3 separate regions of the Homo sapiens genome follow, and regions 2 and 3 are each linked to region 1. Evidence: promoter capture Hi-C in 16 types of primary human blood cells and fetal thymus (Javierre and others, 2016). All regions are on one chromosome and are shown on one strand. Each heading gives the region's core, a stretch centred on a gene start or on the middle of the fragment in contact. The rest is flanking DNA. Distances are from core to core; before and after follow the strand shown. Region 1 holds the start of PLCB4 (phospholipase C beta 4). Region 2 overlaps PLCB1 (phospholipase C beta 1). Region 3 overlaps PLCB1 (phospholipase C beta 1).

The links. Contacts are between HindIII fragments. The CHiCAGO score rates a contact against its expected background, and 5 or more counts as called.
Region 2: a fragment that was not itself captured here is called in contact with the fragment with the promoter of PLCB4 in region 1 in 1 of 17 cell types (megakaryocytes); the score reaches 6.2 in megakaryocytes.
Region 3: a contact is called between a fragment that was not itself captured here and the fragment with the promoter of PLCB4 in region 1, in 1 of 17 cell types (megakaryocytes). The highest score is 9.2, in megakaryocytes.

The regions. Positions count from the first base shown.
Region 1 is chr20:9,067,837-9,071,360 of GRCh38, reverse strand. PLCB4 (phospholipase C beta 4) reads right to left here and starts at 2,274. Exons shown (of 40, transcript NM_001377142.1): 1 at 2,155-2,274. The HindIII fragment of the contact is 10,687 bases long and covers 371-3,524 here.
Region 2 is chr20:8,873,739-8,876,863 of GRCh38, reverse strand. The region is part of intron 31 of PLCB1 (phospholipase C beta 1); the gene reads right to left. Among named protein-coding and RNA genes, the nearest start is that of RNU105B, 44 kb to the right of the region's middle. The HindIII fragment of the contact is 1,453 bases long and covers 942-2,394 here.
Region 3 is chr20:8,849,651-8,852,755 of GRCh38, reverse strand. The region is part of intron 31 of PLCB1 (phospholipase C beta 1); the gene reads right to left. Among named protein-coding and RNA genes, the nearest start is that of RNU105B, 20 kb to the right of the region's middle. The HindIII fragment of the contact is 5,550 bases long and covers 1-3,105 here.

The DNA of each region.
Region 1 (3,524 bases), core at 1,025-3,524:
GGTATCTTAGGAAAATACCATGTTTACTGAAATTGCCAAATATAACTGTCCCATGTTGCCAAAGTCAGCAGTATACATTAATCTAAAGACAGTTGTGTGTAATCTTGGGAAAGGCAAACTAGCTGTGCTACGGGCACTGAATGGACTCTGCTGTGGTTGAAATATTTCAGAGGTGATACAAATTTTTAAAATCTTTTCCTGCAAAAGGTTTTTGGTAACCTGTAACACTTTTTCAACTACCATATTTCTTTATCTCATAAGGCAAAAACACACCGCCTCACGATTCCAGGACATGTAAGCAGTTTAACATCACTCACATTTTCAGGCATATAAATATAAAACTTCCAATAGAGTATTTTAGAACAAAGCTTTCTGCGTGGGTATGCATTTGCAAAATAAAGGTAGAGTTATTCCGACAGATTTAAATGTGCACCCAGTGATCAAATGGAGTTAGAAATTCTGTTTTGACAGTTACTTGTAGAACAGCATTTTCAACAGCGATTAATTCAGAGCTGGGTAGTAATACCATCAAAACTAAGTTCCAACTGTTGAGTAATAATATAGTTGGAAGGAAGTGTAGTCCATAAGCTAATACATGGTACCTTTAGATATGTTATAATACGTCACATTCAAAAGGTTACTCGTCTGGCAGCAAGTCTTACGTTCATAAAAGTGCCAATAAAAATGTTTTGCCATTTCAAAAAGTGATTTTTTATGAAAACAGGTGCTCTCCAAAGATGGCAATCATTTATTAAACTACTACAGTTCAAAAGGAAGATGATATAATAGATCAATACACCAGCTAAGGATCATGCAAGACTGTCCTATGAAAAACAGCATTCTGGATTACATAACACAGATAGTGAGGGATTACACCACATGCCCCTGCTGAGCTAGACTTTTGATCTTCTGTATGATTCTATAACTGAGGCCACTCAAATTTGAAGAGTATAAAATATGAGGGTCTCAGTTCAACCACACATTTCTGAAAACAGCCGTCTTGAAAACAATAAAAGAATAAAGTTAAAATTTTACCTTCCCCCGCAACACACACACAATTTTTCTATTCTGAAAAACACAGTTGTTCAGATACTTTCTTAACCTCCTTGGAGCCTCCCCAGGTAAAGTCACCAGTTGCTTTTCCTGGTCATGTTTACATTATAAATCTGATTTCTCTTTAAGGGGAAATTCAATATCATTTTAAAATGATACATAGCTGCCTATGTTTGAATAACGTTATTTCCAGACAAAAAGAATTATTAAACAGCTATCTCCACATACCTATAACTTAAATATATAGACCACTAAGTATTACGTATATGGAAAAAAAAACACCTTTCCTGAATATTCTGGCCAAAATTAAATTTCAAATACATGTTTTAGAACAATAGCTAGAATCACTACAGAAGTTAAGAGGAAAAAAAGTTGGAAGAGTAGGGTCATCTTTCAGATATATCCATATTTATGGAAACTATAGTGGGCAGTTGTATTTCTCTCTAGGAAAATGCTAGTTTTATGATTCTAGATAAAGTTGCACTTAAACACACTTGGAAATTAGAGAATTCCATATTTCCATACTTCGATTCAGTACCATATACGAAGTCTACACTCAGAAGTATTGTACTATACAGAGTCTAATTGGTTAAAGCAAAAGCAACTTTAAAATTCTGAAAATAAGGATTTCCTTCACTAACAGGCTTTTAGGAGGCCCGAACCCTGCCCCCAATGAGTGCTAAGCCTGTCAGTGTTGTTTTAAGTGGAAACGGTCAATCATTTCTATGATTTCCCCAGAAGAGGCAAGAAGATCCACACGCATACACATTTACATGCGTTGCACGGTGCCAACTATTTCCAACCAAAATAATCATATACACGTCGAGCCGAGCTATTTCTAGCCCAGAAGAGGGTGAACGTCTGGAGAGAGTCTGAGGAAACCCAGCAGGCGATGACTGCAGGGGAAGGGGGATGGCGTCTGGGTCCCCTGCCTCCCGCGCGCACAGGGCGCCTGGCACCCGGCACCTGCACGGGGTCCCCGCTGGGCATCCGGGTGCGCGCGCGCGCGCGTCCGGGACGCACCCGCGGAAAGCAAACAAGCCCTGAGGGCCAAGGCGGGCGGGAGCATCCTCGGGCGGGACCCGAAATGCCTTTTCCTACCTGTCACTTTGCCTGGAGCTGCTGCCGGGGATGCGGCGACGGCCGCTGCCTGGAGACCCAGTGTGTACGCGCGTGTGTGTGCGCGCCCGTGTGTGCGTGTGCGTGTGTGTGTCTGTGTGTGAGAGATCTTGTTGGCGGTGCAGCTCACTTACTGCTCCCGGCGCGGCGCCACCACCCCCTCCTCGCCATAAAGAGCCGCCGCCAAGCCCCCTCCCGGCGCACCCCAGTCCCGCCCTCCCGCCTGCCTCCGCACCCCCTCCCTGGCCTCCCCGCCTCCCCGTCTCCGCGCCGCGCGGTCCTTACCTCAGTTGAGGGCGGGGGTCTCCGCCGTGGCTCCCCAGCGAGCCCACGGGGCAGCGCCGACCCGCCCGCCCACCGCCGGGCCCTGCGCGTCCCCCGCTCCGGGCCCCGCCGCCCCTCAGCGGCCAGCCGCTTCCTCCTCCCCTGCCCCCGAGCCTCCCTCCTCGTTCTCGCCTCCCGGCTCCAGAGCCCGAGCTGTCGCCTCGCAGCCCCAACCTGCCCAGGCTACGGAGCATGCCCAGTGCGGCGCGCCGGGCTGGGCTGGGGGTGGGCAGGGGCCGGGCCGGCCGCCCAGTTGCCGCGAGCCCGCAGGGCGAGGAGTGGGCGCCGACTGGGTCGGGGGCGCAGCCTCGCGAGCCGGGGGCCGAGCAGCCGAGGCAGGTGGTGGGCAGCGCCAAGAGGAGGTGGGTGGGGCATCCGGGGAAGCCGGCCCGCGGCGCGCTCCTCTGGGGTCTCCCTGGCGGCTCCCCGCGGCATGTGCCCCATGCCCAAGGGTCGGGGGCGCACGGGATGGCGCTGGGCGCAGAACCCAGGGAGCGGGGGCAGAAAAGCGGCACCCTCCTCGGATGGGAGACCCGCAGCCCGCCGTGGGCCGTGTGGAGGGGCTCAGGACTGGCCAGAACGGGGCCCCCAAAGCCGTTGGCTGGGTGGGGGACGTGCTTATTTGTTTATATTCGGTTTCATAAACCCATACAGCGCCTACAATGCGTCCTGCAGTGTTCTAAACGCTTTTTATTCATTTAATCCCTAAAACAATCTTCCAAAGAGTACTACTGCCTCTTTTTATTTCGCGGGTCTTACACAGAGCCACAGAGATTAAGTGGTTCCAAAAAGTCTTCCCACAAGTGCAACCTCAGACATGCAAATCCCCCAGACTTTGGTCCCTGGGATGCTGGGGTGCTGCTCCAGCCAGTTCCTGGCTTTTCCCGGCCCTACAACGGCCCCCAGGTGCCTCCGAGTCACACTCACACCCAGGCCCTAATGGTGTTCGGTCTGGCATCACCCTTGTGTGGACCCTCACAACGTGCTGCTCCCGAACTCCGGAGGGCTCCCTCCTCCCCACTCCGCCT
Region 2 (3,125 bases), core at 419-2,918, 190 kb after region 1:
CTCTCACAGTTAGAAGTTTACTCAGCCATCATGTGAACAAGCTCAGCCTAGCTTGCCAGAAGAGGAGACACATGGCCCAGTTATTATACTTTTTGCATCACTTCAATTGACTATCAGATATAAAAGTGAAGCTATTCTAAACCAGCTCACCCCTAGCTGACCACCAGCTAAACACAGGCATGAACAAGCCTACTGAGATCAGGTGAGCCTGGTCCAGACCAGAACCAGTTCATAGACTCATCAACTTAGCAAATGCTTGTTTTGTGACTGATTTTTATGGTTGGTTGTTAGGCAGCAGTATTATGGCTATAACTTTGAGTGAGGGGAACAGAAAGTAGTCTCATTATGTGGCCTGGACCCATAAAATACTCATAAGCTAACACAGCTGGCCCCATCCTTTCATTGCTGTGGCCTCAAAGCATATTCTTGGAAAAAAAATCACCACAGGACAGATAGATTTTCAAGACAAATGTGATTTTGTAGGCTATGCCTTGGAGCCTTTCTAGCATAACATTGTCAAACTTGAGTTTGTTTAATCTTAAGTTCATAAGACCTCTTTTTGGAAAATGAACAAGAAAGACGAAAGAACATGATTGAATTTAACCTCTAAATTTAAGATGAGTTGTTATTATTATACTCAGATATTAATAAAGAAGAGTGTTGTCAGAGTTTGTTTTATTATAGGCCCAGTTCTTTAATTTGACTAGTCAGGCTCAAATTCTAAATTTCTCAGTTAACTTGATTTTCAAAAGACATTGCCCACTAGTCATTTTTGTGAACTCTGGGTAGTTAAGCAGGAAAAGGCAATACGGTCAAGTTCAAATGTATTCAATTCTTCCTGTGTTGTCAAAGATTTTTGTACTTGGGATGCTTTTCTGACTCTGACATTCTTTTCTTCTGTCTTTAAAAAAGGCAGAGATTTGATATAGTTAAGGAAAGCTTTTAGATAAAAAAAATAAGTGAAGGCCAAGGAGCAAGCAAAGTTACTCTTGAAGGTTAGCTTACAATCAGAAAACAAACAAACAAAACCCAGTATAACATAAATGTGGCATAAATATAAGACAGATTACTGAGTTATGAATCAGAGACAATCAAACCAATTTCCTAAGGAAACAAATTGAAACCAGAGAACAATAAGCCACAATGGAATAACAAAGAAGAATTGAGAAAACTTAAAAAAAAATATGCAGCTGGATAATGTGCAGACAGATATTTGCAAGGTTTTCAAAATTTGGAATTCCAGAGTCCAACTCAGGTCATTTTGCCCAATGAAGTGTATGAAAGATCTTAATATAAAATATAAGGCCAATGTATTTTATAATATAAATATTAATATATTATATTTATATATAAAAATATTTTATATGTTATATAAATATTTTATAATATAAACATAATAAATTAATATAATGTATTACATATATTAATATTTATATTATGTATATTATATATACTACGTATAGTATATATACCACTTTGTAATATAAAATATGAAGCCAATAACAATCTTAGGATTGTTATTTGCTTGTTATTTGCTTCTGTCTAGGAGAATGTGCCAAAAGTATAATTGTGATTGTGAATAACTGTATAATCATGGGGTACAGAGACCTTTTTAAGCAAGACAGAAAAACATAAGAAAGAAAAATATAGATATCTTTATCTAGATGAAAATAATCCATTTCTCTGAAAAATGAGCATAAATAAAGCAATTCATAGGAAAAGAAATAAAATACAAAGAATATATATACAATACAACTATATATATTTGAAATATAGATGAAAGCAGCTCATTAACAATTAGAGAAATGCAATAGCACAATACCTTTTCAAGGGACATTTATTATATTGATTAATTTAATTTAATTCATTAAATTTAAAAGAAATTTCCTTTAAAGAAGCAATAACATTCTGAGAAATTGACACTTTGAAACATTGGGCAATAATTTGACAAAATTTATAAGAAGGCAAACATAGGCTTGTAACCCAGCAACTCCATTTTTGGGAATTTGGCCCACAGAAACAAAACCACCAACATATAAGAATGAATACACTAAGATATTTATTTTTGTACAGGAAAAATAGCATTGATTTAGCATTGTTTGTACAGGCAAAGCAACCAAAAAATAAAACAAAACAAAACCAGCCTGTGAAAACTACCTTAATTTCAATGTTTTGCCACATATGCATTATGTATTGTCTATCTCTATATTTTTTGCTGAGTCATTTGAAAATGTTTCAGGCATCATGACATTTCACCCATAAAGACTGAAGCATACGTTTCCTAAAAAGGTTGCTTTCAGATAGCATTAGCATATTTATTTATTTGCTTTATATTAATATATCCAGAAATAGTTTCAATATTATGACCTGTCAATAAAATAAGCAAATGAAGCTTGAGACTTTTTTGAAGTTCTTTTTATTCATCAAATATATCCTACTAAGGATGCACAATTATATTACTCTGCCAAAATTCACTGAAAGTAATTATATTCTTTGTATGGTTATGTTACCTTAAATATAGACATAGGATCACTTGTTTCAGTTTGTTTTCTCAGTAGACATTTTCAATTATTTTATTCTTTTTCTTCTCTGGGAGCATCTGTTGTGCGTGTGTGTGTGTGTGTGTGTGTGTGTGTGTACATACACATATATATAAATAAAATTGACAATTTAAAATTGTATGTATTTATGTAGTACAGAATGATGCCATGATTTATAAATACAACATGGAGTAATTAAATAAAGCCAATTAACATATTTATCACCTCAAATACTTACCATTTTTTGTGGTGAGAACATTTGAAATTTAATCGCTTAGCAATTCTGAGATGTAAAATACATGCTGCATATATTTAAAATTTAATTCCTTATAGTCTTTTAACACTTTAAAAATATATCTCCTAGCCTTTGAGAGGCAGCAATAATAATATGGTACTCTAATTATCTTGCTCAGAATATTTTGGAATTTACTGCTAAAGATCAGGGAAAATAGTAAAACTAACAAAAAAGCCAAGAAACAGCAAAAACATGAATAAAACGTAAGTGTTTCTGTAAAAAAATCATAAGGCTCTCACTTAAAGAACTATGAGGTAGTCAAATAATATAAACCAATGGCTTTGAAAACA
Region 3 (3,105 bases), core at 427-2,926, 220 kb after region 1:
ATTACAAACCGGGAAAGAGTTGAGAAAATTGGAGAGCAAACTATGCTTTTGGAGATTTGTGGGGGCCTCTGGCACTTTCCAATCTTAGGATGTAAAAGTGAGCCTTCTCACACTAAGCCAATTAATCCAAGAAGTGAGTGCCTCCTTATTCACTGTGTGCCCCTTGTCTGTAACTGACCCTCTACTGATGTGGCTTCTGTGGACAAAGGAAAGGTTAGAAGAGCAGATTTCCCAGGACCACAGGCCCATCTTAAGGAGGCTGGGATATGGCTAGTGGGAGTTCTGCCTTCCTCCACTTCTTGGGACAGAGGCCCTGATGTCAGTCCTGGAATATCAGGAATAAGGTAACTCAGAGTAGTTTCTGTCATTAGACTCAGACTGGATTGGACAGAATTGGTTTTGCTCAACTCTGTCCTGGAGGATTGTTTTGTGGTTGATGAAAAGGAACACTTTGTAACACAGCAATTTTCTTAGGTTCTTCAATTAGGAGTTAGAAAAATGATGGATCTTTCTTTTGGGAGACCAGCAAAAAGATATTCGCTAATGTCAGTAGGTACAATTTAGAAATGACACTTAGTAACCCCAGATGTGGCTGAAATGACAGAATAATTAGGAGGCAGAGATAAAACCTGGCAGCAGGAATGAACTGAGACAGCAGCCTATTTTGCAACTTTATATAAACAGTCATACAGTCTATAGTTCTTTGCATCTGGCTTCTTTTTTTGTTGTTGTAGATAGCTGTAGTCGGGTTTTTAAAAATTGCTATAAAGTATGTGAATACACCACACTTCATTTACCCATGCCACTGTTGATGGACATTTAGGTTGTTTCCAGTTTTTGCCTGTTACATGTGGTGCTTCTATGAACACTTGTACTGGGGGAAAAAGATGCCAGGGTTAAGGGTAACTGCCTCTAAATTGCAACTTCAGTTCAAGCAAAGAAAAGAGAACATTTCCCTAGAAAGATTCTCTTACTTTTGTGTGAGTCTCCTAAATGATGACACTCAGAATGAAAAAAAATGAAAAAAATGAAAAAAAAAAAAACCAAAAAAAGAAATGGAGATGGAAGCACAGGGCTGATGACTTCTGATGGATAGCAGCAGCTGGGGTGACTATGGCAGACATCACTAATCAATCTTAGTGGTACTTCCAGGCCATCTAGATAGCCTTGGAATCCTTATCAACAAAAAGTCCCAGGCATCTGCTACCATATGATGGAGTTGGCATGCAAAAAGTAACCCACTACCATACAGGATAAGGCACTTCGAACTGAAAGTTGAGTAGACACTCAGGGTTATTTTGCAGCCCAGTATAAATCTTCAAGCAATGACTACCTCCTAGGCTACTGTGGCCTGTTGAAGCAAGTTTATATAAGCAAACACATATATCATAAATTGCTAGGGACCTTGAATAACAGGAAATTAGCAGTTATTAAATGCAAATGACTTTAGGAGGAAGAGAGGTAAAGAAAAAGAGTGAAAAGCACTGGTGGTAGTCAGTGGTGGTATGTGAGTATAAGGTAACAAACAGTGATGGTGACTGTGGCTAAAGGGAGCACACAAGGTCATCTAATCGGGGATTCCACTCCTCAGATCCAGCTAATTGCTGCCAAGTCCATTGGAACATGGCCCCAGTGAGCCAGGTCTTTGAATATTTCAATTAAAGCAAGGAAACATTTTTAAAGGATATCTCCTTATTTTTAAAGTTGGCATCCTGTTCAACAAGAAGATGAAAGAACACTAAGAAAAAAACATTATAACAATGTGTGAGTACAATAAACCATGTTTGTGGATTATTCAGCCAGGTTACTGGTTGCGATCTCTGGCTTAAAGATTTTGGTTGGAATAGGAGCATCAGAGACAGGCTTCTGAAATAGGCTGCTGTCTCGGTTCATTCCTGCTGCTATAACATAATATCTTAGACCAGGTAATTTATAATTAATAGAAATTTATTTCTCACAGTTCTGGAGGCTGGGAATTCCAAGACCATGGCACCAGAAGATTTGGCGTCTGGTGAGGGCTCATCTCCTGCATCCAAGATGATACCTTTTTGCTGTGTCCTCACATGGCAGAAGGGCAAAAAGAGCAAAGCAGGCTCCCTCAAGCCCTTTTATAAGGGCACTATCCCCATTCATGGAGGTAAGGCCCTCATGACCTAAACCTCGTAAAGTCCTCACTTAATACTGTTTTACTAGGGATTAAATTTCAGCATGAATTTTGAAGGGACACATATATTCAAACCATAGCAACTTTATTCCTATTTTTTCGGATGTTAGAATGAAAAATCACCAGTCAACTGCCTTGGGAAGTTTAGCCTTTTATCTTTTCCTAACCCAGTAAAGGGAGCCTGGTCTGCTTTCTCAGGAATGTTTGACTCTGGATGTTCCTCTTCATCCATAATTCATGAGCACTATTGGTGCTACTACCTACATTTATACAGCGTCTTACATGCATGAACACACTGCCTGGCTCTGGAAGCACGATTAGAAAATGTTGTGCCTGTGGGTATTTTTGAGCATTTTAGTTTGCCCAAAAGCTGAAGAGTGTCTGCTCTGGCTATGACAGACATTAATATTCACAGTGGCATCTCCTTTGCTCAAGAAAAAAGAAATCTGCTGGGAGTCACACAGCTCTAAATTGAAATCTGTGCACATTTACACTTACGTGTTTTAAAGAGCTGGTTTAGAGTAGTGGTTTAGAGCACATGAGTTCTAGGGCCGGGCTGCTTCGTTCTTTTTTTTATTTTTAGACGGAGTCTTGCTCTGTCGCCAGGCTGGAGTGCAGTGGCGTGATCTCGGCTCACTGCAACCTCCGCCTCCTGGGTTCAAGCAATTCTCCTGCCTCAGCCTCCCAAGTAGCTGGGACTACAGGCCTGCACCAGCATGCCCAGCTAATTTTTGTATTTTTAGTAGATATGAGGTTTCACCATGTTGGCCAGGATGGTCTCGATCTCTTGACCTCGTGATCCGCCCACCTTGGCCTCCCAAAGTGCTGGGATTACAGGCATGAGCCATCGCGCTCAGCCCTGCTTGGTTCTTTTTTTTATATTTTCTTTTAATTTTTAATTTAATTTTATTTTATTGAGATGGAGTCTTGTTCTGTCACCC